3 separate regions of the Homo sapiens genome follow, and all the other regions are linked to region 3. Evidence: promoter capture Hi-C in human tissues and cell types (Jung and others, 2019). All regions are on one chromosome and are shown on one strand. Each heading gives the region's core, a stretch centred on a gene start or on the middle of the fragment in contact. The rest is flanking DNA. Distances are from core to core; before and after follow the strand shown.

The links. Contacts are between HindIII fragments. The study calls those that stand out against the background at their distance.
Region 1: a fragment that was not itself captured here is called in contact with the fragment with the promoter of OTOR in region 3 in 1 of the 25 tissues and cell types used here (lymphoblastoid cells).
Region 2: a fragment that was not itself captured here is called in contact with the fragment with the promoter of OTOR in region 3 in 1 of the 25 tissues and cell types used here (IMR-90 fibroblasts).

What each region holds. Positions count from the first base shown.
Region 1 is chr20:15,970,576-15,974,094 of GRCh38, reverse strand. All of the region lies in intron 13 of MACROD2 (mono-ADP ribosylhydrolase 2), which reads right to left. All of the region lies in intron 1 of LOC613266 (a long non-coding RNA gene), which reads left to right. Among named protein-coding and RNA genes, the nearest start is that of KIF16B, 600 kb to the left of the region's middle. The HindIII fragment of the contact is 4,573 bases long and covers 1-3,519 here.
Region 2 is chr20:17,468,643-17,472,350 of GRCh38, reverse strand. All of the region lies in intron 11 of PCSK2 (proprotein convertase subtilisin/kexin type 2), which reads right to left. Among named protein-coding and RNA genes, the nearest start is that of BFSP1, 61 kb to the left of the region's middle. The HindIII fragment of the contact is 7,308 bases long and covers 1-3,708 here.
Region 3 is chr20:16,746,971-16,750,314 of GRCh38, reverse strand. OTOR (otoraplin) reads right to left here and starts at 1,957. Exons shown (of 4, transcript NM_020157.4): 1 at 1,799-1,957; 2 at 1,309-1,448; 3 at 305-412. The coding sequence starts at 1,913. The HindIII fragment of the contact is 9,309 bases long and covers 1-3,344 here.

The DNA of each region.
Region 1 (3,519 bases), core at 25-2,524, 780 kb after region 3:
TGTTTCATTGATCAGCCTGTCTATTCCTATAGCAAGGACTACCCTGCTAAGTACATTTTTCAAACAGTCCATGTCATCCGTAGTCTATTTGTTCTGTCATTGACTAATAATATTGTATCTGGGAACTCCTCATTGCATTTTCAACAGGTTTTTATTTGTATTGTATCTTGCCATATCATCTGACACAAAAAGCCCCATCACTATTATATTTCATCAGGAATTTAAATTGTTATCAATATCAAATAACCAACTCTTTGTCACTGGAGATTTTTTTGCTAGACTTCTAACCGAATAGATTGGTTCAAATAGAAGTAGTTCTTCATGTTTTCTTTTGATGCTCCTTTCTCAAATATACATTTTTCTAACTTTATACTTTTAAAGCTTTACCTTTTTATTGAGTTTAAGTCAATCTGAGTGGCTTTTACACTTATTAAAGTAACCTAATTACACTTACTGTTATAAGCATTTGCTTGTGTTTCTGTCATCTTATTTGATACATGAGGCTTTTGTTACACTGCTAGTTATTGTTATTATTTGCATTGCTGAGTATACTGTCATGTGATCTCTTTGGGAAATTTAGAAAGTAAGGTATCTTCTTTTAATTTTATTATTATTTAATTCTATTTGTGATTATTGTACAATTTTTCAGAGATATTCTGAAAGGTAACATATTGTCAGAATCCATAACACTGGGATTTTTAGTTTTTGAGTGGTATTTATGGAGTCAGGCTAATGTGCAACTCTTCCTTCTTCTAGCTATAATCTAGTTTTACAACCTCTGCCACTGATGCTTCTTTTCTTTCCTCCTTTCTTCATTCCCTTCCTCATTTCCTCTTTTTCTTTCTTCCTCTTTTAGACAATTTTATAAAATTGCGACAAATATATAGAAACACAGACAAAATATAGAGATATCAATTAAATAACCAAATGCAAATACAGAAACTATATATTTTTATGATAACCATCCAGCCAGGCAGCCCTCTCATGGCCCCCTCCCGGCAGTATCTCCTCTCCAATCACCAAAGTTTAATCAAAACCCTGACTGTCACAGTGATCAGTACCTAGGTCTTCTTTATCATTTTATCACCTAAACAAGCCTTTCTAAATGTTAATTTTTTTCCTGCTTTTTGAACTTGATATATGAGATTATATAATAAATAATATATGCTTTCATACCTTCTCTAATATTACATTTGTGAGATTCATCATGTTTTTGCATGTCATTGTAGTTTCTAGTTTCCATTGGGACCTTTTATTTATCTTTTTTTTTTCTTTTTTGACAGAGTCTTGCTCTGTCACTCAGGCTGGAGTGCAATGGTGCTGTCTCAGCTCAGGAGGCTCATTGCAACCTCTGCCTCCTGGATTCAAGTGATTCTCCTGACTCAGCCTCCCAAGTAGCTGGGATTACAGGTGCCCACCACCGTGCCTTGCTAATTTTTGTATTTTTAGTAGAGATGGGGTTTCACCATGTTGGCCAGGCTGGTCTCGAACTCCTGACCTCAAGTGATCTGCCCAACTCAGCCTTCCAAAGTGCTGGGATTACTGGCGTAAGCCACTGTGCCTGGCCTGATTTATCTTTATCTTTGTCTTCTATATGTAACTTGTCATTTTCCTCTGCTTGTTTTTGTGATTTTTCTCTTTATTGCTGGTGTTGAATAAATTGATTATGATGTACTTAGGTGTAATTTTCATTATGTTTCTTATGCTTTGGGGTCATAGAACTTCTTGCATATGTGGGTTGATAATTTCATCACATTGAAACATTTTAATCACTTTTACTTCAAATATTTTTTCTGTCCCTTTCTCCCACATTCACCCTCAGAGATTCACATTCATTTATATTGTAATTAGAACCACCCTTCAAGATGTCTCATAGCTCATGGATGCTCTTTTTTTTTCCCCTCAGTCACTTATTCTGTTTTCATTTGGATAGCTTCTATTGCTTCATCTTCAAGTTCATTAATCTTTTCTTCTATAGTATCTAATCTGCCACTGTTCTCATCAAGTATAATTTTTAATTCAGGCACTGTGTTTTGAATTCCTTGAAATTCAATTTGGGTCTTTCTATAACTTCTTTGTCTCGAATTAACATGGTCAGTCCTAATTTTAATTTTGTAAATATGTGGAACAGAGTTATAACAACTTTTAACATGCCCTTTCATATTAATTCTATCATCTGCATCATTTATGGGTTGAGTTCCATTTATCAACTTTTCTTTTCCTGTGCATCATACTTTCCTGCTTCCTGTCAAGAACTATGAAGACTCTGAGATTTTACCCTGCTTGAGCCACAGTTCCATGGATGCTGACAGAAGACAAAGACTTCTGGGTCAAAGATAAAGGACAGTTTATTATTCAGAGAAATCACAGTAACCAGAGTATTAGTGTCTGTTCTCTGAGTCCTGATTCCCACATGGTGCCATAGGTGGACCAGCTGATTCCTGCACACTCAGTGGGTGATATCATAGAGGAGGAATCTTGAACTTAGAGAATGTATTAGTCTATTTTCATGCTGCTATGAAGAAATACCCAAGACTAGGTAATTTATAAAGAAAAAGAGGTTTAATGGACTCACAGTTCCACATGGCTAGGGAGGCCTCATAATCACAGCAGAAGGCAAGGGAGGTGCAACCGCATGTCTTACATGGTGGCAGGCAAGAGAGTGTGTGCAGGGAAACTCCCCTTTATAAAACGATCAGATCTCATGAGACTTCTTCACTATCATGAGAACAGCATGGGAACGCCCACCCCTGTGATTCAATTACCTCCTACAGGGTCCCTCCCACAACACGTGGGGATTATGGGAGCTACAATTCAAGATGAGATTTGGGTGGGGACACAGCCAAACCATATCAGAGAATCTCAAGATTCTCTGAACCTTTTAAAATGCACAATAAGTATGTATGCTCTTTAATTTGAAGAGAAACATGATCCTTTTCAAAGATACAAGCAGTGCCTCTGCTCACAAAACATGCAGAAATATGAAAGATGCATGGAGAGTTGTCTTGCAATAATTCTTTGCATGCCTGGTAATTTTGTTGATTTTACTTTGTTGGGTATGAGATATATTTATAATTTTTATAAATATTTTTGAGCTTCATTCTAAAATGCAGTTAAGTTACTCAGAAATATTCTGATCCTTTCAAGTCTCACTTTTAAGCTCTACTGGGGAGGACATGAGGAGCATTTAGTCTATTGCCTGTTTTGCTCTGCTACTAAGGCAAAAACCTTCAGAGTTCTTTATGAATGTTGAGGCTTTCCAGTCTTGCTGGTGGGAACAGGCACTTCTTCTAGCCCTATGTAAGCTCCAGTTATCACTCTCTCAGATCTTTTCTAGTGTTCCTACCCAGTTGAAGACTGAGGAGTTCCTTCTGTAGACCTCTGAGCATTCCGTTTGTGGAGCTCTCTTCTCTGTAGAATGCTACCTTGCAAACGTTAGCTACCTTGGCCTCCCAGGACTCTCACCTCTGTCTCCTCAACGTGGAGAGTTTGCTGGGCTCTCCCTGGGTTCCTCCTCTC
Region 2 (3,708 bases), core at 479-2,978, 720 kb before region 3:
AGGTGGCACAGGGCCGAGCACACGCTGACCTCTCACTCCCATGCTGCTTCCGGCATTGATACCAGGTTTTAACATTTATTTCCAAATTCACTTAAACTTCAGAGCTGGATCACATATTTTGGCACAGCCTTAAAGGAGCTCAGTGAACAGTCCCCTCAGGGTGCCCAGAGGGGCTGGGGGCAGCTGTGTTAGACAGGTCACTCCCAGCTGGCTGATGGGGCCGGCCTGGGCTGGCTCTGCTCATTCTACACACAGCTGGTGCAGCTGGTCACAGCCAGGTGTATTTTCCCCTTTGATTGTAGCTGAGCATCCTTCACTGACTCTCTTGATAAAGCCTCTTTAGAAAATTGCTTTTCAAATTGACTCCATCTCCGGGAAGATTAATGCCAAGGAAACCCACAAACCTGACAATCACCACTCACTCCACCTTGGAAGCTGTTTCTGTGCAGCCCTGCACATTATGGAGAGTGGCGATTGCCACGGCTGTTGATTCCTGTACCCCACCGCTCCTCGAGTGTGCTTCGTGGTCACAAGGGCCTCCTCTGTCAAGCGGCACAGCCAGCCCTGGGGCTGCTCTCCAAATCTCCCTGTGGAGCCTCTGCATTCTTCAACAAGTGTATTTGCCCTAGACCTAACTCATCTGCATCTGAGAACAAGTTCTGGTGTGGGGGTGGACGAGGGACCGGAGGGCACTGAGAGGAGGCAGAGCCCTTCCAACCAAGGCAGAGCCTCCTTCCCACATTTGCCTTGCTGGCCCGCCGGTCCTATTGCCAGCAGTCAGACATTTCCCTTGTGTCCGGCTGCTGCTGGCTGAATATTTTCATTCCCTCATTCATTTAAAAAATATTTATCACCTGTCTACTATATGCCCAGCACTATTGTAGGCACTAGGGTTACACCATGAATATGACAGACGAGGGCCCAGTCCATTGGGAGGCCCCAACTGAGTTAGTGCTGAAATATAGTGCTTTCCCATTTCTCTTCATTGAAAACACTGCATTGATCTTGCATAAAGTTCCTGGATAGTTGTGAGATGTTGGGATGATCACATCTCCGGACCTCAGATTCCTTACAGGGACTTGGATAACATTATTTCCAGTGTTCTCTCTGGCCTTAAATTCCACATGTATGCAGATTATGATGGAATGCTAAGCATATTCAGAAACTGGGAGATAAACTGCCGTTCATCTCAGCATACGCCCTCATTCCCTCTCTCTCCTTCTCTCCCGCGGTGCTCCCCTCCTGCCCTCTCTCATAATCATATGGTGCTTGACGATCATTAGAAGTCCGTCTGGCTTGTCCAGTGCAATCTCAGAAAATATAGCCTGGTATTGACACGTAGCTTGACTAAGAGGGCCGCAGTACATTCCAAGCTAACTCTTCCCCTAAATACTGCAACGGTGCTGCCTTTTTGTTAATTGTAAATATTGCTTATATGCAAGTAAGTGTAGATATCGTGCCAGTTGCACTGCCTGTGAGGGACATTCCAGCCCCCACTCCCTGCTTGCAGAGTGTCTGTAAAGGCACAGACATCGTAAGTCTTTCTCCTTTTGCAATAAGGGAATGAGGTACCAGGCCCCAGGGCCTTGTGGAATGGATAAGGACATTGGAGTTAAGGCCGTTTGCTTTATTTGTCTGATCCTGTTTTCTCACCTAAATTAAGACTAGGGATGCCAACCTCCTGTGATTAAATGAGATAGTGGAATAAAGTGCTATCCCAGTGACTTTCCGAGAGAAGTTCTTAGCAGCAGTTCTTACTAGCACCCTCCCAAGGCTGCCTTTAGGCTTCTAGGATGCTGCAATTGGATGTCGTGCTGGGGGAAGGCATGAGGCTATAAAATGGACCAGCAAGCCTTTCTTGCAGTCTCATCTTCTTGACACCCCTTCATAGAGTTTATGTTATTAAATCTCCACTTCCCATTCGGTTTGCACAATTCAGCATCCCTCCTGCTAAGATGTAACTACCAGATGTGCCTTAGACATGGCTGTCCAAGATGGTAGCCACCAGCCACATGTTGCTATTTAAATTTAAATTAATGAGAATGAAATAAAATGAAAACTCTTGTTTCTTAATCACGGTCATCCACTTTCTAGCACTCAATAGCCACAAGCTATTGTATTGGACAGTGCAGAACATTTTCACCACTGCAGAAAGTCACTGCACTTCCAAATTTCTCAAGAAATTATTCTGAACTCTAACAAGGGAAACAGTTGTCAACGCCCATTTCATGTTGACTTTGGGTAAAGTTAGTTATGATGAGTAGGGTTTAGCCTTAAATCCCCCATTTGGACAGTGGTTCCCAGTCTTGTCTCTTTGTTCATTCCCAAAAGACACGGCAGACCTTGGCATTGTAGACCAGTGAAAAGGGCCTCTGGAATGCCAGTGATGGGGTTTGGGAGATGGGAGCACCCACTAGGTGGGTGTTTCAGAATCCCCAGGGGAATGTTTACTGAAACTCCCTCCCCTACCCAAGCCTCACCTTCTCCAGGGGGAGTCACTGAGATACCTGAGAGCCCACCGTGAGGGGTCAAAGTGACTGGGCTCAGATCCCAGTTTGGCTGCTTAGTAGCTGGATGACATTTAGCATGCCCTTGACCTTTCCCAACCTCCTGTCATCAGTAATGGCACTGTGAGCTCACAGTAGGGCTGCTCTCACATACGGCCTAATGTAGGACCTGTATGCACGGGAGCTGATTAAGGTCAAGGTCATGTAGTGAAAAGAGCCTGGGGTTTGGGTTTAGATGGGCTTTGCTTCAAGTCCTGCTCTGCCCTTTGTGACTCTGAGCACATTTTTTTTTTTTTATCCTTTCTGGATCTCAGCTTCCTTGTGTATAAAAAGTAATAATGATAGGACACACCTCCTGGGCTTACAAGGATTAAATACAGTAATGTAAATGGGCCTAGCATATACCACACCTAGTTGGTGTTTCTCCCTGACACCCAGCATGGGACCAGTTTGTTGTTAAGGCTGCAAAATATTCACCCCTGCTCCCACCTCGACTGTGCGAGTATAAGGCACACCCTCAACAATAGGGTGGCTGTGAAGCTTACGTGTATGAAAGCACATAGCATGCAGTTGGCACTCAATAAAAGTGACTTCCAGTCTCACATTTACAGCCTCTGTGGGCTTGACTGTGTCAATCAACTTGTTTAGAGCTCAGAGAAGTCTGTCCTGCCAAGAGGAGGGATACGGGAGTGAACAGAAATGATGTGTGGACACAGAAGCTTTGGAAAATGGTGAGGAACTGTGCAGAGTAGCTATTTTTATTATAGGACATTTGTAACATCACTTGGGACTTGGGCAGCTCTGTGTTTTTAGATTATTATAGGGCTTGGGCTGAAGCTTTATTTTTTCCATGTGGTGCTGATTAGAGTGAGGCCTTCTTAAATCATGGACTGTTTCATGGAAAAAAAATACTCAGCTTGGCAGTAATCCACTTGGTGCCACTTTCTAGGGGTTCAGTGAGTAAACAATGAGGATGCTCACTCATGGGAAGATGCTTGTCCATGGGAGGATGCTGGCCCTTGGGAGGATGCTGACCTATGGTGGGCTGCCCGTCTATAGCAGGATGCTGGTCTGTGGGAGGATGCTGACCTATGGTGGGCTGCCTGTCTACAGCAGGACACTGGCCCATGGAGGGTGCTGACCTATGGTGGGCTGCCCGTCTACAGGAGGACACTGGCCCATGGGAGGATGCTCACCTATA
Region 3 (3,344 bases), core at 708-3,207:
AATGTATGCAATTTTTATTTGTCAATTATAACCCAATAAAGCTGAAAAAATATAGAAAAAAGATGAGACAAAAAGTAGTAAACTGAAATAAAACAAAAGGGGGTGGTATAGAGAAAGTTTACTCATCTTTCAACTTTGACAGTAGTTATAAATGGTCCCCCAAACCTCATTATCTCAGAAAAGTCGCCACTGAAAGTTGGAGGCTTTGTTCTATACAACTTGTAAGTTGCATGATGCATTTTTAACACCGGCCTACATTGCCCCAAGATCTGAGTCCTTGTCTAGTCACTTTTGAGATGCTTACCGTGGTGGGAACTTCCTTGGTAGCTTCCTGGTACACACGCTGTTCCTTGACCAAGTTCCTGGGGAAATAACCCACGACTCCCATCTCGTCCTGGCCATCACCATAAACCTAAGTGCCCAGAAGAATAGCAATCAGGAAAAAGCTGATGCTGAGTGTCTTCTGAGAAACTCGCAGGCGTCCTCTTTGCTGATAGTGAGAATCATAGCTGCCAATACCTCCCTTTCACTCCGGGGTCCAGGGGGCGCTGCGGCAAATCCGAAGTTTACTTGGAGCACTAAGTTAACCCGCAGGAATTGTGCATCTACTGTTTAGTGGCCCAGTCTTATTTCGCTACTTTAGCATGACTTTATTTTACGCAATCTTGTGAGTTGCCTGAAATCTTTTTTGAACCCATAAATAAATATATAAAGACAGTACATTTTTTTAAAGTACTGTAGACACTTATTTTAAATGATGCAAATTTCTCAGTTTTCAACAATTCAAATGAACAGACTTAAATGGCTTTAAATTTAATCCTTCATTAATTTAGAACTTACCTTTAGGGTTGCAGATGAGGACAGAAAATCATCCCTGCTTCATCCCTCCCCAGGGACCGCCCCTGTATATTTTAACTGAAGAACGCTGATTCTTTCGAATTAATTAGGGTGCAAAGTTTCCTAAAAGAATATTGATACTTAGACTCACTGCCAACACACATGCCTTCTACTTGGCAAATCTTCTCAGACGTTTTCGGATAAGATTCAAATTCTTTGGGATGTTTAAGCCCCCATGTATTTGACTCTTTTTTTACCAAAATATCACATTAACCTACATTTGGTTTTGTTACGAAATTGATCTTTCTTTCTTTAAAATGCAATAGCAAATATACCTGAATTTTTGCATTTCCATCTACAATCACTACATGGTTCTTAACAACTAGTATTAAGCATTAAAATAGGTTGAAGGTAGGTAATCAAGGAAAGGTTAAGAGCAATATTCGTCAATAGGTGTTTAAATTATCTTACACTGCCAGCCCAAAATTCTCCAGCTCCATTTTCTTTTACCAGCTTTGAGTACACATAGATCTGCTGCCCTTTTTTAACGTTAATGAATCTACAGTCCGGGGCATTATAATCTTCTTGAGCACTAGCCAGAGAAATAGTATCTGGAAGAAAAAAAATTTAAATGATTACATTTTAGGCTCCTGAATTTTATAACAGTAAAAGGCAATGTATATTAGAAAAACTAGAAAATCAGAGTGACTGATAATTCCCAGTTCATAGCTGGTGTCTATCCAAGAGAAAGAAGACAGCCAAGATATTAAAGCTGCAACAAAACTCAGCCAAGTGAATTCTCCGTAGTAAGATACCAAACATGCAGACCAGAAGAAACAAAGCTGATAACATACACATTGGAGAAGATTCACTTCAAAGTATAATTCGATTTTATGCTATTAGTGGATATATTTTCAATTATGTAATAGAAAGATAATGAAAAGCATAAAAAAGTCCTTACAGACACACTCATCATCTGCACAGAGCTTCTTGGAAGCTAGACGGTCCATAAATATTCCATGCACAGCACATACAGCCACAAGACCCGGGAGGAAAAGTAACAATATTCTTGCCATCTTCCTTTTTTCTGTTTTAACTTGAACTCTGACTGGAAGCGGGGACTGACTTCAGTGGTTCCTGCCTTTTATGTGAAAGCCAGAGCTCTGGGTAAATACCCTGGCCAATTAGAAGGGCCTACCACCCCTCCGTTTTCATAACAGGCTGCTCGGCTTCAGGGGCTATTTAGCGTCTGATTTTCCAAACAGAGTCAAACTCTGTGTCTTTCTATACACAGATAATATCCAAAATGGTCCACTATTGTTAAAGCCGCTTTAGCAGTGGTCTATTGTATCAATCAGTAGGGCTTTGCTGAGAGGACTATGAGAATTTCAAACCATTTTTAGTTTTAATTCACCCCTAATTTTCCTTCAGCTTATGAGCAAAGACATACTAGTTGTAGGAATTTGTTGAAAATGTGAGATCTATAGCACAAATAATTTGATTTAAACAAATTCAATTAATAAATCTGGATTTACGTAATAGATAAATGAAAGATTCTTATGCTTACAAATCTTTCATGATAGGATTCTTAGAAGGCATGCCTGTCCCAGGCTAGAGATGAATTCTAACATACTAATTGATGCCCCATTTAGACCCTACCAGTGGGGAAAGAGATGGGTGGGTTGGGAAAAATAGGTCAATCTTTCCCCTACCTCTTCTCTCTAAGACTTTTGCAATTCAGTCTCAAATGCTCAAGGGTGACAGGTCAAAGAGAAGAGAGTGAAGTTACAAGTTTATGTTACCTGGAACTTCCTGCTTCTGAGCATGTTTCCCATGGGGAGAGGAGCACTCCTAGAGGCACCAAAGTGGAACCGCCAGTCCCTAGCTCCGTCTATTCAGCAAATATTTACTGAGCACTTACTGTGCCAGGTATAGTTCTGGGCACTAAAGATATAGCAGTAAATTTAAAAAAAATATTTTGGCCCCAAGTGTTGCTTTCTATTAGAAGAGACAGACAGTAAGTTACTGCTTTTTATAGGGTGTTTGAGGCTGGCATCTCTCCCATAAGGTGGCCCTTCCCCTGTTCTTATCCATTGCTTCTAGAATAGAGATCCTCTCAGGATGCCTTCTCCACCTTGGTTGATGATGTGACTTCGGAGCAGTGCCTTCTCCCCCAACCCCAAAGTCGTAACCTCATAAAATGAGGGACAAGAATTTAACTTACTAAATAATTTTGTGCAATACAATTTCCCAAGGGATAAATGGGTAAGGCAAAATATAATAAAAAGGTTTTTTGTTTTGGGTATATGTGTGTGTGTGATAGAGTTGTATTGGTTTGAGTGCATCTGTGTGTGTATGTAAAAGAGTTTTGGTGTGGGTATGGGTGTGGGTATGTGTGGCTGTGTGTGAGTGTGTGTGTGTGGCTGTGTGTGTATGTGTGTGTGACTTTCAAGGGAGGATCTTTTATATAGCTGGTCCTGATTGGAAAGTCTGTTTTATTCATACCT